3 separate regions of the Homo sapiens genome follow, and all the other regions are linked to region 3. The links are contacts of gene promoters, found by promoter capture Hi-C in human tissues and cell types (Jung and others, 2019). All regions are on one chromosome and are shown on one strand. The core of a region is centred on a gene start or on the middle of the fragment in contact, and the rest is flanking DNA. Distances in the headings are between cores, read along the strand shown. Region 1 overlaps CRISPLD2 (cysteine rich secretory protein LCCL domain containing 2). Region 2 has its middle 14 kb from the start of KCNG4. Region 3 holds the start of COTL1 (coactosin like F-actin binding protein 1).

Region 1 (4,330 bases), core at 1,090-3,589, 260 kb before region 3:
TGTCCCTTGGAGAATCCACAGGTCTCCAGCCCAGGATGAGGGCTCATGAGGGCCACACCACCCAGCCTCCAGGGCAGCTGTCTTCATCCTCAAAGCATTTCAACCCAGGGTCCTGGGACTGTCATTCTATTTCTAATTCTACAATGGAGCTAAGTCAGAAAGCGTGCTCTGTTTGAAGGGCAGCTTAGCATTACAGATGTATTATATGATCTGAACCCTGGGGAACATCTATAAAGTGGGGACGTCCCAGAGACCTGCGGCCTTTTCCACCTGAGAAGGTGCCTCAGCCGATTCAAATAAGAGGATGTTCCTGTGTTCCCTTCCCAAGAGGATCTACCAGGAACTTCAGCGACAGCTGTTCCCAGGACACCCTTTATTTTATGCTGGGAGGCATCGTCCTCCGTGGACCACTCATTTGGGGTTAGCTGCCTGTAGAACCGATTCCTGGGACAAACCCGTTGTCACGTATCCACAGAATGGAATGCTGCATGAGGATTTGAAAGAATAAACAAACACGCTCCACAACACGGCTGAGTCTCCAACACATGACGCAGAGTGAGAAGCCAGACACCCAAGACCACACCCTGCCACGGCGCCATAATTTTGCTGAAAAAGCAAAATCAGAGCAACAGAAAGAAGCTCCCTGGTGCAGGGGTGTGGCCGGGAGCTGGAGGGAGAGGGACTGGCCACCAGAGCAGTAATGACATTCGGTGCTGACAATGTCTACACTTTGACGGGTGGTGGTTGTGACCCTGTATACCTTGGCCAAAACACATTGTGTACTTTTTTCTTTTTTTGAGACGGAGTCTCGCTCTGTCACCCAGGCTGGAGTGCAGTGGTGCGATCTCGGCTCACTGCAAGCTCCACCTCCTGGGTTCACGCCATTCTCCCGCCTCAGACTCCCGAGTAGCTGGGAATACAGGCGCCCGCCACCACGCCCGGCTAATTTTTTTTTTTTTTTTTTTTGTATTTTTAGTAGAGACGGGGTTTCACCGTGTTAGCCAGGATGGTCTCGATCTCCTGACCTCGTGATCCGCCTGCCTCGGCCTCCCAAAGTGCTGGGATTACAGGCGTGAGCCACCGTGCCCGGCCACACATCGTTTACTTCTAATGGGTGGATCGTATCATTTACCTCAATAAAGCTGATTTTTAATTTGTATTTTATTTATTTTGGGACACAGTTTCACTCGTCACCCAGGCTGGAGGACAATGGCGTGATCTCAGCTCACTGCAACCTCCGCCTCCCAGGTTCAAGCAATTCTCCTGCCTCAGCTTCCCAAGTAGCTGGAATTACAGGCACCCACCGCCATGGCTGACTAATTTTTGTAATTTTAGTAGAAATGGGGTTTCACCATGTTGGCCAGGCTGGTCACGAACTCCTGGCCTCAAGTGATCCACCCGCCTCGGCCTCCCAAAGTGCTGGGATTACAGCTGTGAGCCACCTCACCCAGCCTAAAAAGCTACTTCTAACATCTTCCATAGAAAAGATGACAGATCAGGCCCGCCTTACCTTGGGCAGTGAGTTGCTGGCTTTTCAAACGGGCACAGCTGAGCAACGGTCGTGTAGCAGTCCAAATCCTGCACTGTGAACAGGAGCAAGGGGGAAAGGGTCAGGTCCCAGCACGCCTGGGCCTCAGGCTACCAGGCTGTGCAATGGGCCACTAGACTACCAGGGCCTATGGGTTCCCTGGGCCCTTGAATAGAGCTGGGACTACGACCCAGCAGGCTCCTCGTACCCCACGTAGGGGCACTTAAGAGATGAGACCAAACCCACGGCCTGCATGTGTTGGCGGGTTGAGGGCGTTGTCACCCCCAGTGGTTTCTCTGTGGGGCTGATGGTGCTTTTCATCTGAATGGTGACTTTCTTATTTGGAAGCTTTTCCTGACTTGATCACCTTTGCTCCTCACAGCAGGTGTTACTCTAAGTAGGCAGATGAGGAAATGGAAGCTCAGAGAGCTCAGAGTGCCCTTCCCAGGACTGAGGTGGGAGCCCAGCTTTCCAGTGCCTGCTCTAGAGCTCCTTCTGACATACCACCTACCTCCTGCCGCTAATCAAGGCACATTCATCCCTGCTGAGGGGCGAGGGGCTTTTATCTTCAAGGTCATTTTGTTGTGTTTAAACAACACAGGTAAGGAAACAGTTCTAATACTGGCCACCTGTGATCTCTGACAGCATGTCTTTATTTAGTTCAGGGCTAAGTAAACTTTTTCTTTTTCTTTTTTTCTTTGAGACAGAGTTTTGCTCTTTTTGCCCAGGCTGGAGTGAAACGGCACGATCTTGGCTCACTGCAACCTCCACCCCTGAGTTCAACTGATTCTCCTGCCTTAGCCTCCCGAGTAGCTGGGATTAGAGGCGCCTGCCACCACAGCCAGCTAATTTTTGTATTTTCAGTAGAGACAGGGTTTCACCATGTTGGCCAGGCTTGTCTCGAACTCCTGACCTCAGGTAATCCACCTGCCTCAGCCTCCCAAAGTGCTAAGATTACAGGTGGAAACCACTGCACCGGCCTTTTTTTTTTGAGACGGAGTCTCACTCTGTCGCCCAGGCTGGAGTGCCATGGCATGATCTTGGCTCACTGCAACCTTCACCTCCTGGGTTCAGGCAATTCTCCTGCCTCAACCTCCCAAGTAGCTGAGATTACAGGTGCCTGCCACCACACCTGGATAATTTTTGTATTTTTAGTAGAGACGGGGTTTCACCATGTTGGCCAGGCTGGTCTCAAACTCCTGACCTCAGGTGACCCATCTGCCTGGACGTCTCAAAGTGCTGGGATTATAGGCGTGAGCCACCGCGCCCGGCCAGGTAAACTTTTTCTTAAAGGACCATAGAGCAAACATGTTTGGCTTTGTGGTCCTTATGTTTGATGTCAAGATTAATCAACTCTGCTGTTGTAGCAGAGAGGAGCTATAGATGATGTGGAATAGGTGTAACTGTGTTCCAATAAAACTTTATTTACAAAAGCAGGCAATAGGCAGGATTTAACCCATGAGTCATCGTTTGCTGAACCCTGCTGGTCCAGTCTGTCACTTGAACAGGCCATGGTTCTATATAGCTATCCAACAAAGGGGACTGGTTTAGTACATCAAGGGACTTCTATTCAATGGGGAGATCATTCACATTAGGTTTGGAAGAACATTTAAAGCAAGGGTGTCCAGGCCGGGTGCAATGGCTCACGCATGTAATCCTAGCACTTGGGGAGGCCCAGGCGGGTGGATCACCTGAGGTCAGGAGTTCAAGACCAGCCTGGCCAACGTGGCGAAACCCCGTCTCTACTTAAAAAAAAAAAAAAAAAAAAATTAGCTGGACATGGTGGCGGGTGCCTGTAATCCCAGCTACTCAGGAGGCTAAGGCAGGAGAATCACTTGAACCCATGAGGAGGAGGTTGCAGTGAGCTGAAATTGCGCCACTGCACTCCAGGCTGGGCGACAGAGAGAGACTCCATCTCAAAAAATAACAAAATAAAAAATAAAATAAAAAAAGCAAGGGTGTCTAATCTTTTGGCTTCCCTAGGCCACACTGGAAAAAGAATTGTCTTGGGCTACAGATAAAATATACTAACACTAATGATAGCTGATGAGCTACAAAAAAAAAAAAAAAAAAAAAAAGTCCATGCATAAATCTCATGTTTCTCATGTTTACAAATTTGTGTTGGGCACATTCAGAGTCGTCCTGGGCTACATGCAGCCCATGGGCTGTGGGTTGGACAAGCTTGATTTAAAGGCACAGAAATATATTCCTGACACACACACACACACACACACATATGTATATATTTTTTTGAGACAGGGTCTTGCTCTGTCACCCAGGCTGGAGTGTAGTGGCATGAACATGACTCATTGCAGCCTCAAGTTTCCAGGCTCAAGCAACCCTCCCATCTCAGACTCCGAAGTAGCTGAGATACAGGTGTGTGCCACCCTGCCCAGCTAATTTTGTGTGTTTTTTGCAGAGACAGGGTCTTGCTGTGTTGCCAGGGCTGGTCTCAAACTCCTGGGCTCAAGCAATCCTCCCGCCTCAGTCTCCCAAAGTGCTGAGATTACAGGTGTCAGCTGCTGCATCAGCCAGACACATAATTATTTAAGAAAAAAATTAGGTTACCAAATTGTATGTAACTCCATTTCAAGTTTTAAAAGTCATCGATGTATATATTACCAATGTACATACTTTGAATATGTAGAGAAAACAAACTGGAATATTTGCCAAAGTGTTCACGATGGTTATCTCTGGCTGCTGGAATTTAGGTCATCACTACAAAAAAATGTTCCACTCCGTGTTTAAATTATCTGGAATAAACAGGCATTCTTTTTGCAATAAGAAAAAAAACTACTACAT
Region 2 (3,905 bases), core at 816-3,315, 360 kb after region 3:
ACCACTAAAAATAATCCCTAACCCTGACTGCTTATTTTATGCCAAAAATTATGCAAAGTATTTACATACATAATTTTATTTAATCCTTAAAACAGCCCTTTGAGGTAAAAACTAGTGATCTATCATTATCCCCATTTTAGAGATGAGGAAACTGAGTTTTACAAAATCTAAGTAACTTGCCCAAGGTTAGAAAGCTGGAAATTGAAGGAATGGAGATTTAAACCCAAGGAGTCTGACTTCAGAGCCTACACGCTTAATTTCCATGTGATAGTTGGGCTTCATATAAAAAAGAAAAATACATATATGCAAAAGCAAAATAGAAATTACCTCTAAATCTTCCATTCAGAGATAACCACTTAGCACCTTGATCTATATTCTTCCACTTGATTTTTCCTTTGCTTTCTTCACTTACCAAATGTAGCATGAACATTCCCTATGCCAACAGGCATATTTTCTGCTGTGTTTTGAGCTCTCTGGAAACACAAATACATTACTGGAAGCTCCACCCCTAAGACTGGAAGAACCAAGAGAAAGAAGATATCACGAATGGATAAAATCTCCAGGGACTCTGGTGGGAACTGGGAACAAAGGTGCAATTTGGAGGGCTGCTCTTTCCTTGGCTTCTGGCAAAGTCTTGTGGTTTATGATGAGATGTGGGTTATTAGGAGCCATCAGAAAGGACCAAAGAGGATGGAAATTGTAGAAGCAGCAGCAGCAACTTTAACATGACCACAGGTTCTTTGACATTCCTCCCACTGAGAAGTGGAGCCTGGGTCCCCTCCCTTTGAGAGTGGGCAGGCTTCTGACTGCTTAGACACAGCAGACATGACACTATGTGACTTTTCAGGCTGGGTCACAAAAAGCCATGCAGCTCCTACCTTACTCACAAGGCACTGACCTGTCATTTCAGAAGTCTCACTACCCATGGAGGCTGCCATGCTGAAGTGGCCGCAGAGAGGTGCTCTGAGCAACCGTCCCAGCTGAGCCCAGCCTTCCAGCCATCCCTGCCAATGTGTCAGACACAGGACTAAAAAGAACACCTTAGAAGGGGATCCTCCAGCCACCGCCTCATATACTAGAGTCACCCTCAGCTCTGGGGCTTCTGGCTGAGACCCTAGACATCATGAAGTAGAAAAGCCTTTCTTGTTGTGCCTTGCCCAAAGTCCTGACCCACAGAAGCCAGGATTCTCTCTTTTTTAAAAATTGGTAATAAATAATCATTATTTTATGCCAGTGTTTTCAAGATGGCTTATTGCACAGCAAAAGATCACTGTGACAGAATTTGGCACCTGGAAGTGGGGACTGACCTATACAAACTTGGAGCAGGGCTCAGAGGTTGCTGTGCTTGCATCTGAGGCACCACCATGTGCCATGAGACCAAAAATCTCTCAAAGATCCCAATGATCCCAGTCTCCACCTTCCCTTCCTGGGCCTCCAGGAGATGTGTTCTACTAGGAAAGGGCATCAAAATATAATTTTCAAAACATTTTTTTAAATGGGGCCCAGCATGATCACTCACACCTGTAATCCCAGCACTTTGGGAGGCCGAGGCAAGTGGATTGCTTCAGTCCAGGAGTTTGAGACTGGCCTGGGCAACATGGTGAAACCCTGTCTCTACTAAAACAAACAAACAAACAAACAAACAAACCAAAAAAAAACAACAAACTTGTCCCATGAATATAGAATGAATGAGTATGTGTCAAAAATCCCTCATTCTCATAAGTGAAAGGACCAAGAACACTAAAGCTGGTGACCATCCTGAGTATTCACAGGCATGGGAGAAGAATGCTGGGACAGGGATTCTGGGTGAGACACAAAACTGGAGAACATTCTTCAGGGCAATAAAACCATGACCTTGGAGGTTTCTTCACTAACAGACAGCAATCAGACTCATTTCTACCAGACAAAAATTTGCAAGTTAACATGTTAACGTCAGACTCCGGGGGCCCTACTCAACAGTACAAAAAGAGTCAAACAAAGCCACAGTTCCCCCAGAGAATTAAATATAAATAACTCCCGAGCTGGCCTGTTCACAGAAGCTACAGTGTGACATTGAAAGGATGCACACACAGCCGTCTGCTTTGCTCCCAAGTTTTAGATCCTTTTTCCTCAGGAGAGTCCTGGTAGCAGAAACTCTTCCTTGCCCAGGCACATCAGACACAAGGGACCCCAACACCCCTCCGCCAACACTCCTCCAATTCCAACATCCTGAACGTAGATGCCAATCTCTGCCTATGATCTCCTGTCTCTCCACCTCGCCCCTGTCTTCCTGGAGACCTCAGGCTCCCACCCCTCCTGGCTTTCCAAGACCCCCAGACCTCCCTTGACCCCACTAGGCACCCCTAGCCCCCAAGATCCAGGACCGTCAAGCTTCCCAAAGACCTACCAAAAGATGGATGATTCTGAAAACATGCAAAGTTTCCAAATCATGAGGAAAAATAACCTGTTATTAATATAGATTTTGATATTTAATATATCCATTTGTTCATTAGTCAATTTTGTACCCAAAATATTTCATTACATTGAAAAGCCACATGTCAGCTTCCTTGTCACATTGGAAGTGACCTCTCTAAAGCAGGTACAACGTCTGCTGAGGAGTCAGTGCCAATCATCCATTAAACAAGGTCCTCATAGCCAAAAGATTTGCAAAGCAAAACAATAAATATGTACCCACATCTTTGCAGAGCAAACCAGTTTCTGGATGTGAAAAGCGGGTGCACATAAGAAGGTTGATAGGCTGTGAGATGAGGCCTTCAGGAGTAAGACCGCCTGAAATGGGCCAGCTGCTCCCCATCACTGTGCCCTACTCCCAAGACTCCTATTCTCATCTCCTGCCATTTGGCCTTCTTGTCCCATCATTGTCACCCCTGAGTAGACTCCACTCCTGTGAACAAGGCCGGTGCAAAACACCCTGCACCATGCCAAAGACTCCACTACAACCCCAGTGTTGCGCATGATGGACAAAGTGCCTTTTCCATCAACTTCTCAAAGGTGCTGAGCAGTTCTGCAAGAAGGGAACCTGCTTGGCCCTCCTTCCCCCAAACTTACTGGAACAACACTCTTTTCCTTGGACCGCTGGTGTCACTCATACTCAGAAATGGCTCAGCAGATGGCAAGTCATTGAGAACAGACGCACAGCACAAAAGTTTCGCAGGAGGGCACCAGGGAGTGGGGGAGAGTAGAAAGATGAAGTGGGTGCGGAGGAAGAAACTAACACCCCCCCCCGCCCCCGACACACACACACACACACACACACACACACACACACACACACTGTTCTGCAGGAAATAATTAGCAACTGACAAGGAATAGTTGAAGGCAGTCTACCGCTCTCAACGCTGCCCCAGTGGGGTCTTCGTGTGCTGGGCTACACAGACTCACCCAGGCTGTTCTTTGGAAACCCTGGGAAACTTTAAAAGGGTCCCTACCCATCACAGTCCAGGACACGCCTGGGACCAGCCCATTTCCATATCCAACAAGACCCAGATCCTGGTTCCTTCCCTGCCTGTCAGCCAGGACCCGGCCTTCTGTGGGAAGTCCTCTTCCCGGGTTTCCCTCCAGGCCTCCCATCTCACAGGACTGAGAGGAAATTCATTGCTTTCCCCACAGTTTTGCCTTCTGGATTGCCCCTCAATTGCCTGCATCTCCCTCTTCCCTCTCCACTGGATCCTGACTCCCCTCACCTCCTGGCCTCCACCCTGTCCCCCCACCTCTCACCCTACCTTCCTTTTCATTCATTCACTCCCAAACTTCCAGCTTCCTGGGCTCCCCTCCCCTCCACACTGCAACTTCCCTCTGTTGCCATAGAAACCGCCCTGAAAGGTGACAACTGACCTTCCAATTACCCAGAGGCCTGTGCCGGCTGTGCCTCCCCGTCCATTCTTAGATGACCCCCATTCTGCACA
Region 3 (4,066 bases), core at 82-2,581:
GGACATTGTCCCTGACCTTTTGGGTTTCTATTTAGGATTTGTTTTTATCACTTAATAACCAACAATGATGACATTTTATCGAATGTCTAGTATATTTGTTCCAAGTATCATTTCAATTACACTTAAAACAAAGCAGTGATGTCAGTTATACTATTTTTCCCATTTGAGGAGTCATTTAAAAGAGGTTTTGAGGCTTTCCAATGGCCCCCAGTTGGAAAGTGGCAGTACTGGATGCAATTCAAGAGCCCAGTCTTCAGGATCCTGCCTTTTTACCTACCTGGACGCTGTAACTGGTCTCTGTGGAATGGCTGGATGAGGGAATGAATGAATGAGTCAGTGAAGGAATGAGGAAGACAGAATGAGTCAGCTCGTGCTTTCAGAGGAGCCCAAAGGGAGAGGTTAAGATAGGAATGCAAATGACCAGAATCCAGAGTAAACGCGAGCCCACCAGCGTTTTGGAAGCAGTCCACTTTCTACCCCCTCCTATTTAAAATGCTTCATTCTTTCCAGTTCCTCCCCACCTAGAATCCATGGAACCAAACGCTGGGGTAGGGACAGTGGCCAGCCTGTCTCCTTGGGTTTGACGCATTACATCATCCACGTGGAGGTCCCCTGTGGAGCTCTGCAGCCCTGCAGCCTCAGGGGCAGGGGGGTGGGGAGAATGAGGAAGGGGGAGAGGGGGAATAGGAGGAGGGAGTAGGGGACAGGGAGGGAGGAGATGCCAGGAGGGTAAGTGGAGAAGAGGGAGGCGAAGCCGGGGGCAGCAGGGGAGGGGGTCAAGGAGGAGGAAAGAGGAGAGCTTGGGGAGAAGGAAATAGGGAGGATGGAGAAGTTTTGGGCTGGGATAGGCAAGAAGAGGGAGGAGGAGAGAGGAAGAAGAATAAAGGGGGAAGGGAGAAAGAGGGGGAGGGAAGGGAGGGGGAAGAGGTCAGGGAAGTGGGGGAAGCAAGCAGTGGGGGAAGAAGAGGAAGGAGGAGGGAGAGGAGGAAGGCGGGGTGGGAAAGGGGGTTGGGGTAGTGGGAGTTTCCAGGGAGGGGTCGGGAGGGGAGGAGGGGAAGTGAGAAGGAGAAGGAGAGAGAAGAGGGATGTTGGGGGAGAAGAGAGCGGGAGGGAGGAGGGAGAGTGAGAGGGAGGAGGCAAAGCCCCTACTCCAGCCCCCACCGCGGAGTTGCGCAAGCCTTCCGGTCTGGGATTGGCCGCCAGAGAATCAAGACGCTCCGCCCCCGCAGCCCGACGGCCAATGAAGAGGCGGGCCGCCGCCTGGGCGGCCAATGGGCGCGGGGGGGCGGGGCGGGCCACGGCCTGGGGTCCCCGCGCGCTCTCCGTCCGCAGTGGAAGCCGCCGCCGCGCTCGCAGCTTGCAGGCGCCGCGTAGCCGTCGCCACCGCCGCCAGCCCGTGCGCCCTCGGCGCGTACCCGCCGCGCTCCCATCCCCGCCGCCGGCCAGGGGCGCGCTCGGCCGCCCCGGACAGTGTCCCGCTGCGGCTCCGCGGCGATGGCCACCAAGATCGACAAAGAGGCTTGCCGGGCGGCGTACAACCTGGTGCGCGACGACGGCTCGGCCGTCATCTGGTAGGAACTTTTCATTCGTCTCCACGCCCCGCTCCCCGGGCTCGCGCGGGGCCTCGTGCACCGAGCCGGCCTCCAGGCGGGACGGATTCGGGCCTCCCGCGCTGTCTTCCTCGCCTTATTCCGGGACGGCGTGCCAGGCCCCCGCGGGCTTCTCCGTGGCCAGCGCGTCTGTTAGATTGTCCTCTGCAAGCGCCGCGTCGCGCGGCCACCAGCGCTGATGTGTGTGTGTGTTTTTTTCTTCTCCCAACCCAAAGGGTGACTTTTAAATATGACGGCTCCACCATCGTCCCCGGCGAGCAGGGAGCGGAGTACCAGCACTTCATCCAGCAGTGCACAGGTAGGGAGGCGCGCCTGCCGGGCGGATGCGCGGTCGTTGGGAGGTTGTCTGCACCCGGGGAGCCCCGGCCAGAGCGAACCCGGGAGGAACCGGTGGCCACATGGGGTGCCCCTGGCGCATGGCGTGGGAGGAACCCGGTGTGAGCGTTTTAAGGCCTCATAAAACCTTCTCCCCTCTGGACATCCGAAGCAACAGAAGTGACCCACCTGCCTCCGCCATCCTACAATGCCTTCTCCAGGCGGGGCAGCTCTTTTGCCCCCTGCGGTCCACTGGTTTTCTAAGGTCAACTCCTGTGTTTCCAAACTCCAGTGTCCATCCAGCTCTTCCCACTGTCCCCTTTGATCAGTCACTGAGCCCAAATACGAACAGGCTAGGGGGCTGCTTGGAAGGGAAAGAAACTCAGCCGCGCCCTCCTTTCTCCCGCTATCATTGTCTGCCCGTGTGCTGATTTTATGTGATTTTTAATTTGACGAGTAGAATCAGATGCAAAAGAGTACACACCATATGATTCCATTTAGAAATCCTAGACAAGGCGAAACTAATCTATGGTGTGAATGTCAGAATCGAGATTAGCTTTTGGGGCTAGATAGCCACTGATGGGGAGGGGCACACCACCCGGACTGCTGGGAGCTGAAAATGTCTCTGTAGACATTTGTTGATCTGGGAGGGGGTTATGCAGGTGTGTACCCGCGTGAAAAATCATCAGACTGTATACTTAAGATTTGTGTGCCTTAGGCACTTCCCTGTGGCTTGTGAACCATGAAAAGAAAGACCACGTGGCAGGCATCGCCATAAACCCTTCGGTAGTGGCAGAGGCTCTGTGATGTTGGTAATGGGACCTTTTAAAGAGATTGGAGAATGCGACTCCCTCCCATCTCTGGTCTTTAGTTGGAAGCAAGCTTTCGGACAACGGCAGCACAGCCCGGAGGTTACGGCGTGGACCCTGAGCCAGACGGTGTGGGTTACTTATTTATTTATTTATTTATTTATTTATTTTTGAGACAGAATCTTCCTCTTTTGCCCAGGCTGGAGTGCAGTGGTACAATCTCAGCTAACTGCAACCTCCGTCTCCCGGGTTCAAGAGATTCTCCTGCCTCAGCCTCCTGAGTAGCTGGGATTACAGGCGCCCACGACCACGCCTGGCTAATTTTTTGTAATTTTAGTAGAGATGGGGTTTTCACCATTTTGGCCAGGCTGGTCTCTAACTTCTGACCTTAGGTGATCTGCCCACCTTGGCCTCTCAAAGTGCTGGGATTACAGGCGTGAGCCACTGCGCCCGGCCGACGGTGTGGGTTCGAATCCCTGAACGGCTGCTTCCTGGCTGTGTGGTTTGGAACGAGTTCCTTAATCTCTGGGGGTCTTGGTTTCCTCACCTGCACTCTCACAGTGCTGTTGCGAGGATAAGTGAGTCAGTATGTATAAAATGCTCAGAACAGTGCCTGTACAAGCTACATGATTGTTTGCGAAATAAATAAAAAGTACAAAATTGTGCCAGGGATCATGTGGGTGTTTCTTTCCTTAACTGCTTCCATAATCAAATTATATTTTGCATTTAGTTCAATTCAAAGGGTATTTGTGGTGTGACTACTAGAGGATGGGTGATACTGAGAACCCGCGTGCGCGCACACACACACACACACACACACAAAACTAAAATTACTCCTTGAGCGCTGCCTGTAGACATTCATTCATTGCTTTTGTAAACAGTTGGCCTAAAATCGCAGCATAAAGCACTGCAACGATGTGGAGAGTTGGCAGGGCAGGATTTGAACCCAGGCCTCCGTCCCTCCGCCTCTGTAGTTGAATGCTTTTGCAAGTGGAGTAAGTGCAAACTCTTAACTTTCTCCCCTCCGGTCCGTGAACAGCCAGGAGAGTCAGCAGTATTTCTGCTTTGCCGGCTCTGAGGCTATGCTTTACAGACCAGCTTCCCTCCCTAAATTCAGCTTCTTTCCTCCCGCTGGTCACCCATCCCTCCCTTCCCCCATCAAACCATGTTCTGCCTCTGAAGCTACTGTTCTCTCCAGCAAGTAGAAGGGGATGAGGAAAAGAGCATCCATCCCATCAGGAGGCTCCTGGCAGGTGCTCCCAGGCCTCAGCCCACTCTGGTGTAGTGGGAGAACACTTCCCTCCTCCCACAGGCTTGTGGTTTTCTGCTCAG

Evidence for each region. The method cuts DNA at HindIII sites, captures the fragments that hold promoters and counts their contacts. A contact is called where the count stands out against the background at its distance.
Region 1: a fragment that was not itself captured here is called in contact with the fragment with the promoter of COTL1 in region 3 in 1 of the 25 tissues and cell types used here (thymus).
Region 2: a contact is called between a fragment that was not itself captured here and the fragment with the promoter of COTL1 in region 3, in 2 of the 25 tissues and cell types used here (IMR-90 fibroblasts and aorta).

The regions. Positions count from the first base shown.
Region 1 is chr16:84,874,691-84,879,020 of GRCh38, reverse strand. CRISPLD2 (cysteine rich secretory protein LCCL domain containing 2) reads right to left here. Exons shown (of 15, transcript NM_031476.4): 12 at 1,511-1,583. Among named protein-coding and RNA genes, the nearest start is that of LINC02176, 51 kb to the left of the region's middle. The HindIII fragment of the contact is 5,719 bases long and covers 1-4,330 here.
Region 2 is chr16:84,252,287-84,256,191 of GRCh38, reverse strand. No RefSeq gene overlaps it. Among named protein-coding and RNA genes, the nearest start is that of KCNG4, 14 kb to the right of the region's middle. The HindIII fragment of the contact is 8,191 bases long and covers 1-3,905 here.
Region 3 is chr16:84,615,343-84,619,408 of GRCh38, reverse strand. It overlaps COTL1 (coactosin like F-actin binding protein 1), which reads left to right and starts at 1,331. Exons shown (of 4, transcript NM_021149.5): 1 at 1,331-1,571; 2 at 1,826-1,908. The coding sequence starts at 1,495. RefSeq lists silencers at 1,073-1,432, 1,453-1,502. The HindIII fragment of the contact is 16,310 bases long and covers 1-4,066 here.